Linked DNA regions of Homo sapiens: region 1 is linked to region 2. Evidence: promoter capture Hi-C in human tissues and cell types (Jung and others, 2019). All regions are on one chromosome and are shown on one strand. The core of a region is centred on a gene start or on the middle of the fragment in contact, and the rest is flanking DNA. Distances in the headings are between cores, read along the strand shown. Region 1 holds the start of ITGAM (integrin subunit alpha M). Region 2 holds the start of ZNF267 (zinc finger protein 267).

Region 1 (3,118 bases), core at 3-2,502, 610 kb after region 2:
TGTATCAAAAAAAAAAAAAAAAAAAAAAGATAGCAGCATGTCTTCCTGCTCCATTCCCTTTCCCATCCATTCGGTCACCCTAACTAACCCAGCATCCAGATGTCTGCCTCCCAGGTCCAGCTCTGTTAGCCTGGGGCGGGGATTAGCACACTTATTCTGTAAACAGCCAGATAGTAAATTTTAGGTTTTGCAGACCAAGAGGCTGATAGAATATGTTGTACAAGTACTTATATAACAAGACAGAAAATACTTTTCCACAAATTTGTCATTAGGGAAATTTCAAACATAATGATTGAGTACAATTTGTTTGTAATACGGGTTTACAAATGAGACAAATAGAATTCTTTGGGGGTGGTGCTCCCTATCATCAAATCGATTATCAGTGTTCATCTTCAATCTCTAGCTGGCAGGTTGTGCAAAAACAGGTCGTGGGCCATATCGGGCCCCCAGGCCACTGTTTGCTGACTCCTGACCTAAGAACCACCGTCGTGGGGCACGTCCAGTCCTGCTCTGAATTCCAGCCTCCCTTCTGAGCACCTAAATGGCTTCTTCCCCCGGTGTCACAACGATGATTTGCCCAACAGTGAAGTTTCTATACATTCTTAATTAGATAATTTCCTTCCTATGCAGCTCTCAAGTATTTCCTTCCCTTTTGAGGAGAATTTCATTTTCCACAACATATAAGCATAAAAGGTAACAAACTCAAATCATTTTCATTCATCAGTCATTCAACAAACATTTGCACCCGGGACCTTGGAAAATAGAACCGGAGGCAAAGTGGAGATGGTGAGAGGGGATCCAGGAGGAAGCACTCAGGAAAGGGGTCTCACACCTGCTGCGCACCCTGAGCCATGTCACTTCTCCTCCCTGGGCCTCCGTCTCCTCATGTGTGAAGCAAGGGGACCGGCAAGCAGCCTTGCACAGTCCATGAATGTGGTCATTCATCCAGGCTTCCCTGGCCAGCCTGTCTGGGTCTAGCTGTTCTCCCTGCTTCTTCTTGAACCCTTTCTCCTTCCCCAAATCCCCTTTGCCTCTCCCCAGACTGACTCCTACATATTCTGGGCCCTCTATTTATGACAGACCCAAAAGTTACCCTCCTCCCCACCCAGAGTCCCCCACCCCACCCCCATGCACCTGTTAACAGAAGGACTCTGAGAGCCATGGCTGGAAGGAGCCAGAACCTGGAAGGAGGTGAACCAGGGGTTGCAGGCACCACTGAGGAACCACAAGGAAGCCACCAAAGCAAAGAAGGGCAGAAAAGGAGAAGTAGGAGGCAGAAGTCTATCAGAGATTCAAAGGAAGAGGGCGGAGGCTCAGTGAGCACATAGCCCTGCCTGGTCTTCCGCCCAGGACTGCCCACAGCCTGCCCACCCTTCCTCCCCAGCTTCCTGACCCAAACTTTCAAAGTCAATACCACTATCCAAAAGGTGCCATTTGTCACCCACTTGTTTCTTGGGTTGGCCCAAGCATATGAACAAGCTGAACAGACTTAGCCTGCCTCCTGGAATTCGTGTTCTAAACATTAATACGGGCCAGGCGCAGTGGCTCACGCCTGTAATGCCAGCACTTTGGGAGGCCAAGGCAGGAGGATTGCTTGAGCCTGGGAGTTTGAAACCAGCCTGGGCAACATAGAGAGACCCTGTCTCTACAAAAAAATATTTTTAATTAGCTGGGCATGGTGGTGCGCGCCTGTAGCCCCTGCTACTGGACAGGCTGAGGTGTGAGAATTACTTGAGCCCGAGGTCCAGGCTGCAGTGAGCTAGGATCACACCACTGCACTCCAGCCTGGGCAACATAGGGAGACCCCGACTCTACAAAAAAATACATTTAAAAAATTAGCCAGGCATGGTGGCACATGCCTGTAGTCCTAGCTACTCCAGAGGCTGAGGCAGGAGGATTGTTTGAGCTCAGGAGTCTGAGACTGCAATGAGCCTCAATAATGCCACTGCACTCCAGCCCAGGTGACAGAGTGAGACTCTGTCTCAAAAAAAAAATTAAATAAATAAATAAGCAAACATTAATACAGATCAAACAAGTGTAGGAGGTAAAACTCTGTGTCTTCCTGAAAACACACTTTGCAAAATGTCCCTCCTTCAGCCCATGGAAATGGAAGCGCCCTTCAGCCAGAGCTGTCCTCATTTGTAGCCATCAACAAAGACAACTCAAGTACAGGCATACCTGGTGCTTTTTAAATATTATTTTGTGCTTTTTTTAGAGACAGAGTCTAGCTCTGTTGCCCAGGCTGGAGTGCAGTGGTGTAATCACAGCTCACTGCAGCTTCAATCAACCTCCTGGGCTCAAGCGATCCTCCTACCTCAGCCTTCCGAGTAGCTGGTACTACAGGCACATGCTGCCATGGCCAGCTAATTTTTTTTAAATTTTTTGTAGAGACAAGATCTTGCTATGTTGTTCAGGCTATTCTCAACCTCCTGGACTCAAGTGATCCTCCTTCCTCAGCCTCCCAAACTGCTGAGATTACAGGTGTGAGCCACTGCATCCAGCCTATTTTTGTGTGTGTGTGTGTGTGTGTGTGTAAAGGCCTCAAGCTCTTCACCCAAGAATTTTCACTTCTAGTAATTTATCCTAAGAATAGTTAAGAAGTGTAGTCAAAAATATATGTACAAACTTGGCTGGGTGCGGTGGCTCATGCCTGTAATCCTAGCATTTTGGGAGGCTGAGGCGGGGTGGCTCACTTGAGGTCAGCAATTGAAACCAGCCTGCCCAACATGGTGAAACCTCATCTTTACTAAAAAGACAAAAAAATTAGCCAGGCGTGGTGGCAGGCACCTGTAATCCCACCTGGGAGGCTGAGGCAGCAGAATCACTTGAACCCTGGAGGCGGAGGTTGCAGTGAGCAGAGATTGTGCCACTGCACTCCAGCCTAGGCGACAGAGCAAGACTCTTATCTCTAAAAAAAAAAAAATATATATATATATATATATTTGCAAGCTTGTTCATTGCAGCATTATTGTTAATATGAAAAGCTAAAAAAACCTGAATATTCAACAGAGGAATGGTTCAATGATACTTCACTCTGTGATATATCCTTACCCTCCCCTGTGTCTGTCACTTTTAATTCTGTTTTCAAAGGCACAGGAAAATAGGTATCCTTCCACAC
Region 2 (3,245 bases), core at 52-2,551:
TCCGATAACGTGTCTGTGCCTGGGGAAGATGAATGAAAAAGAGGCACAGTTTTTTTTGCAGTGGAGTGTCAGGGATTTTTTATTCTCTGCTTTCCTCTCACGTGAAATGTATGCCAAAAAAACACAAATCTTTAAAAAAGTGTCATCCACTGCTCTGTGAAATCATGATTAATGAGTAAAATACTGTCTGAAATGTACAATAAATGACCAATAGTTAAGAATGTGAACTGGAGAGGGGAAGTTGGCCTTTGGAAATGTCGGGAAGGAACTGGAAATTTAATATTTTATTGCAAGCCCAGTTAGACTGGGGGAACACAGTGGTGGACTTGAGACTCTGCGTGCTACACGTTAGGAAAGCGCAGGGGGAAAACCAGTTCCCCTGGGCAGTGTTAAGATGATTAATGAGCAGGCGATTATACGGAAGTGGTTATAGTGCCCCAGGTTTCTAGGGAGAAAAACCAAAACCAAACTCAAATGCTTTTCTTGTAAATTACAACTTTAGGGGAAAACAAAATTCAGACTTAACGAACCACAAAGCTCCAATTCACCTCCACCTGCATAGTCTAAATAAGGCAACTACAAACTGTAACCCATCGGTTAATTTGGTCTGCTTCCTCATGCACCTTATAAAAACCTTTCCTTCAAGCCCCTCTGGGGATCTCCGAACCACAAACCAGGACTGCAGGCTTCCCATGTCACAAATCGCTATTTGCTCAAATTCTTCAACGTTTTAACAGTGACTCCCTTTAATTCTTAAGAGGAGTAGTGACTGAGGACCCCACAGGGCACGGTTTCTTCCCACACACCGAACCTGGGTCTCCCCTGAGACGCTCCCGTCCTCACCGCACAATCTGGGGGAGACGCGGGGCTGCGACGCGGAGCTGCCCAGAGAGGGCTCCGGCCAGGGACGAGGTCGCTCTGCGGGGTCGGGATGGGACAGGACACGCGGGGTCCCGGCTGCCGGCCTGGCCGCCATCTTGCAGCGGAGGGGACCGAGGGCCGAGCTGCACCAGTTGGGACTCGGGGCCCAGACCCCGAGGCTGACTGCGGGGAGGCCCGGGTGCCCCTACAGCGGGTTCCCGCCGCTTCCGACCACCGCCCTCCCTCCCTCTGGGGACCCCCGACCCCGCACACTCACCATTTCCCAGCTTCCGGGATGCCCTGGCGTCTTAGCTACGAATCTCCCAGTGCCTGCAAGTCGCAGAGCAACAGAGGTTCTGTTTATTCTCAGAACGCGAAGCCGCCTGGGCCTCCCAGAACGAAAGACTCGGAGCTGTGGCGAGGAGACCCGAGCTCTAACTGGAGCCGACGAAGGCCCCCGCCAAATCCCGGAAGCCGCCCCTGCTCTCCGGCTTCACTCCTGATTGGACGGTTTCCACTCCAGCGCCCCTGATTGGATAAAGCTCCATGCCCCGCCCCCTCATTATTAGTGCCTTTTTTTTTTTTTTTTTTGAAAGGGAGACTGGCTCATTGAGGTGGGGCCGCCTGCTGCGGGTATTACAGCTAATTAAGGGGTGAGCTGCGACTTGAAATACACTTGCTCTTTCCCTTACCTGGTTCTGCTTGTATAAGACATCTTATTAGCTAATTAAGTTTAAGAAGAAGTATATTTAGACACCTTTAAAGCAAGAAAGACCCTCATCCCGTCCCTTAGCACCTCTCTTACCGCACTGTACCCCACTGCTAACGCCACCGTGGGAGGGGGCCCCTCAGCTGGGAACAGAAGGCCGTACACTTCATTCACGTGTTTTCAATTAGGCCCTCGCATGATACATAGACTGAACCAGTGCAAAAGCATCTTATAGGGGCATGCAGGCTGGGGTCCCAGGAGGATGTTGCGGGCCGTGGTGGAACGTGGAAGAGGGGCTGGCCTATTCTTCTAATCTACAACTCTGCCCGCATCTCCTGGAGTCTGCATCACTGGTAACGGGGCCGCTGACTGTCCGTCTGTCTCTCCTTCTCAATCCCTTCAAGCTCAGGGAAGAAGGGTCCTTGGCAGCGACAGGGCTGGGAGCTCAGTTCCTCTGGGCCGTGCTGGCTCAGGCTCTGTGGCCACGGACTCCTCAGCCCTACCTCTGGTTTTTGCTTTTGTTTTGAGACAGGGTCTCACTCTATTGCCCAGGCTGGTGCAGTGGTGCAGTCATGGCTCACTGCAGCCTCCGGGGCTCAAGCAATCTTCCCACCTCAGCCTCCTGAGTAGCTGGGACTACAGGCACATGCCACCATGCCCGGCTGATTTTTGTATTTTTTGTAGAGATGAGGTTTCACCATGTTGCCCAGGCTGGTCTCCATCTCCTGAGCTCAAGCGATCCTCCCACCTTAGCCTCCCAAGTAACTGGGGCTACAGGTTAATAGTCAGTTCGCCAACTCCTGAGCTCAAGTATTCTGTCTGCTTTGACCTGCCAGAATGCCCTATTCCTGTTTTTCTGGAGTCTTGGAGCTAGTGGCGCTGCAGCACCTCGTAGTCTTCCGGCTGAGTAGATTCTCCTAGTCTTCTGGCTGAGTAGAAGGTGGGAGAGGAGGTGGGTGTCAAACTGGGCCAGGGCCCTCGGCCGCCATCTAGCTTGGTTAAACTCCCACTTGGGACAGATCAGGCTCTGTGCCTTATTCAGTGAGACGTGTGGAACAAATGCTTCCCTCCCCAAAGCAGAAACATCCCTGATTGCTGACAGTCAGGATTCCATGCACTTGTCTTGGCCTGGGGCATGGCTGCCTCTCACCCTCTCACCCAGTTCTAGTCGCTGCACTCTGTGGCCTCCCTGCCACCAGATTAGGTGTAGACAACGGGTGTGGGACAGGGCTGCTGACACCACTGGCTGACCAAACCCCTTTCCCACACTGAAGGGAGAAAAGACAGGAGGTTAGGGGCTCCCAAAGGCAGCACTGCTTGTGACAGCACCACGGGAGTCCTTAGGGCCTACTAAGGGGCTGGGCTGGAACTCAGGATCAACTCTGCCTGACTCCAAAGCCCATGCACCTCCATGGACCTCACAACTCAAGCAGCTTCCCTAGGCCTTTGAAATCCTGGAGATTGACTCTTTTGCGATAGAAGAAAGATTCCTTTTGATTCTCATCCTTCTAGTACTCTTCACAATTGGAAATAATCCCCACCAGAGAATGCTTCTGAAATGTCTTGGAAACATGTAGAATAATTTGGGAAAATGGCTGAAGGCTGAGTTTAAGAAATCAAGGCCTAACATTCTATTTTTCATTTCTTATAGGAGAGATTTGAAAGCACTTATAAT

What was found. Contacts are between HindIII fragments. The study calls those that stand out against the background at their distance.
Region 1: a contact is called between the fragment with the promoter of ITGAM here and the fragment with the promoter of ZNF267 in region 2, in 1 of the 25 tissues and cell types used here (hippocampus).

Annotation. Positions count from the first base shown.
Region 1 is chr16:31,258,109-31,261,226 of GRCh38, reverse strand. It overlaps ITGAM (integrin subunit alpha M), which reads right to left and starts at 1,252. Exons shown (of 30, transcript NM_000632.4): 1 at 1,135-1,252. The coding sequence starts at 1,162. RefSeq lists an enhancer at 1,396-1,495. The HindIII fragment of the contact is 10,369 bases long and covers 1-3,118 here.
Region 2 is chr16:31,871,863-31,875,107 of GRCh38, reverse strand. ZNF267 (zinc finger protein 267) reads right to left here and starts at 1,301. Exons shown (of 4, transcript NM_003414.6): 1 at 1,139-1,301. The coding sequence starts at 1,141. RefSeq lists silencers at 1,020-1,099, 1,250-1,299 and an enhancer at 1,186-1,480. The HindIII fragment of the contact is 15,903 bases long and covers 1-3,245 here.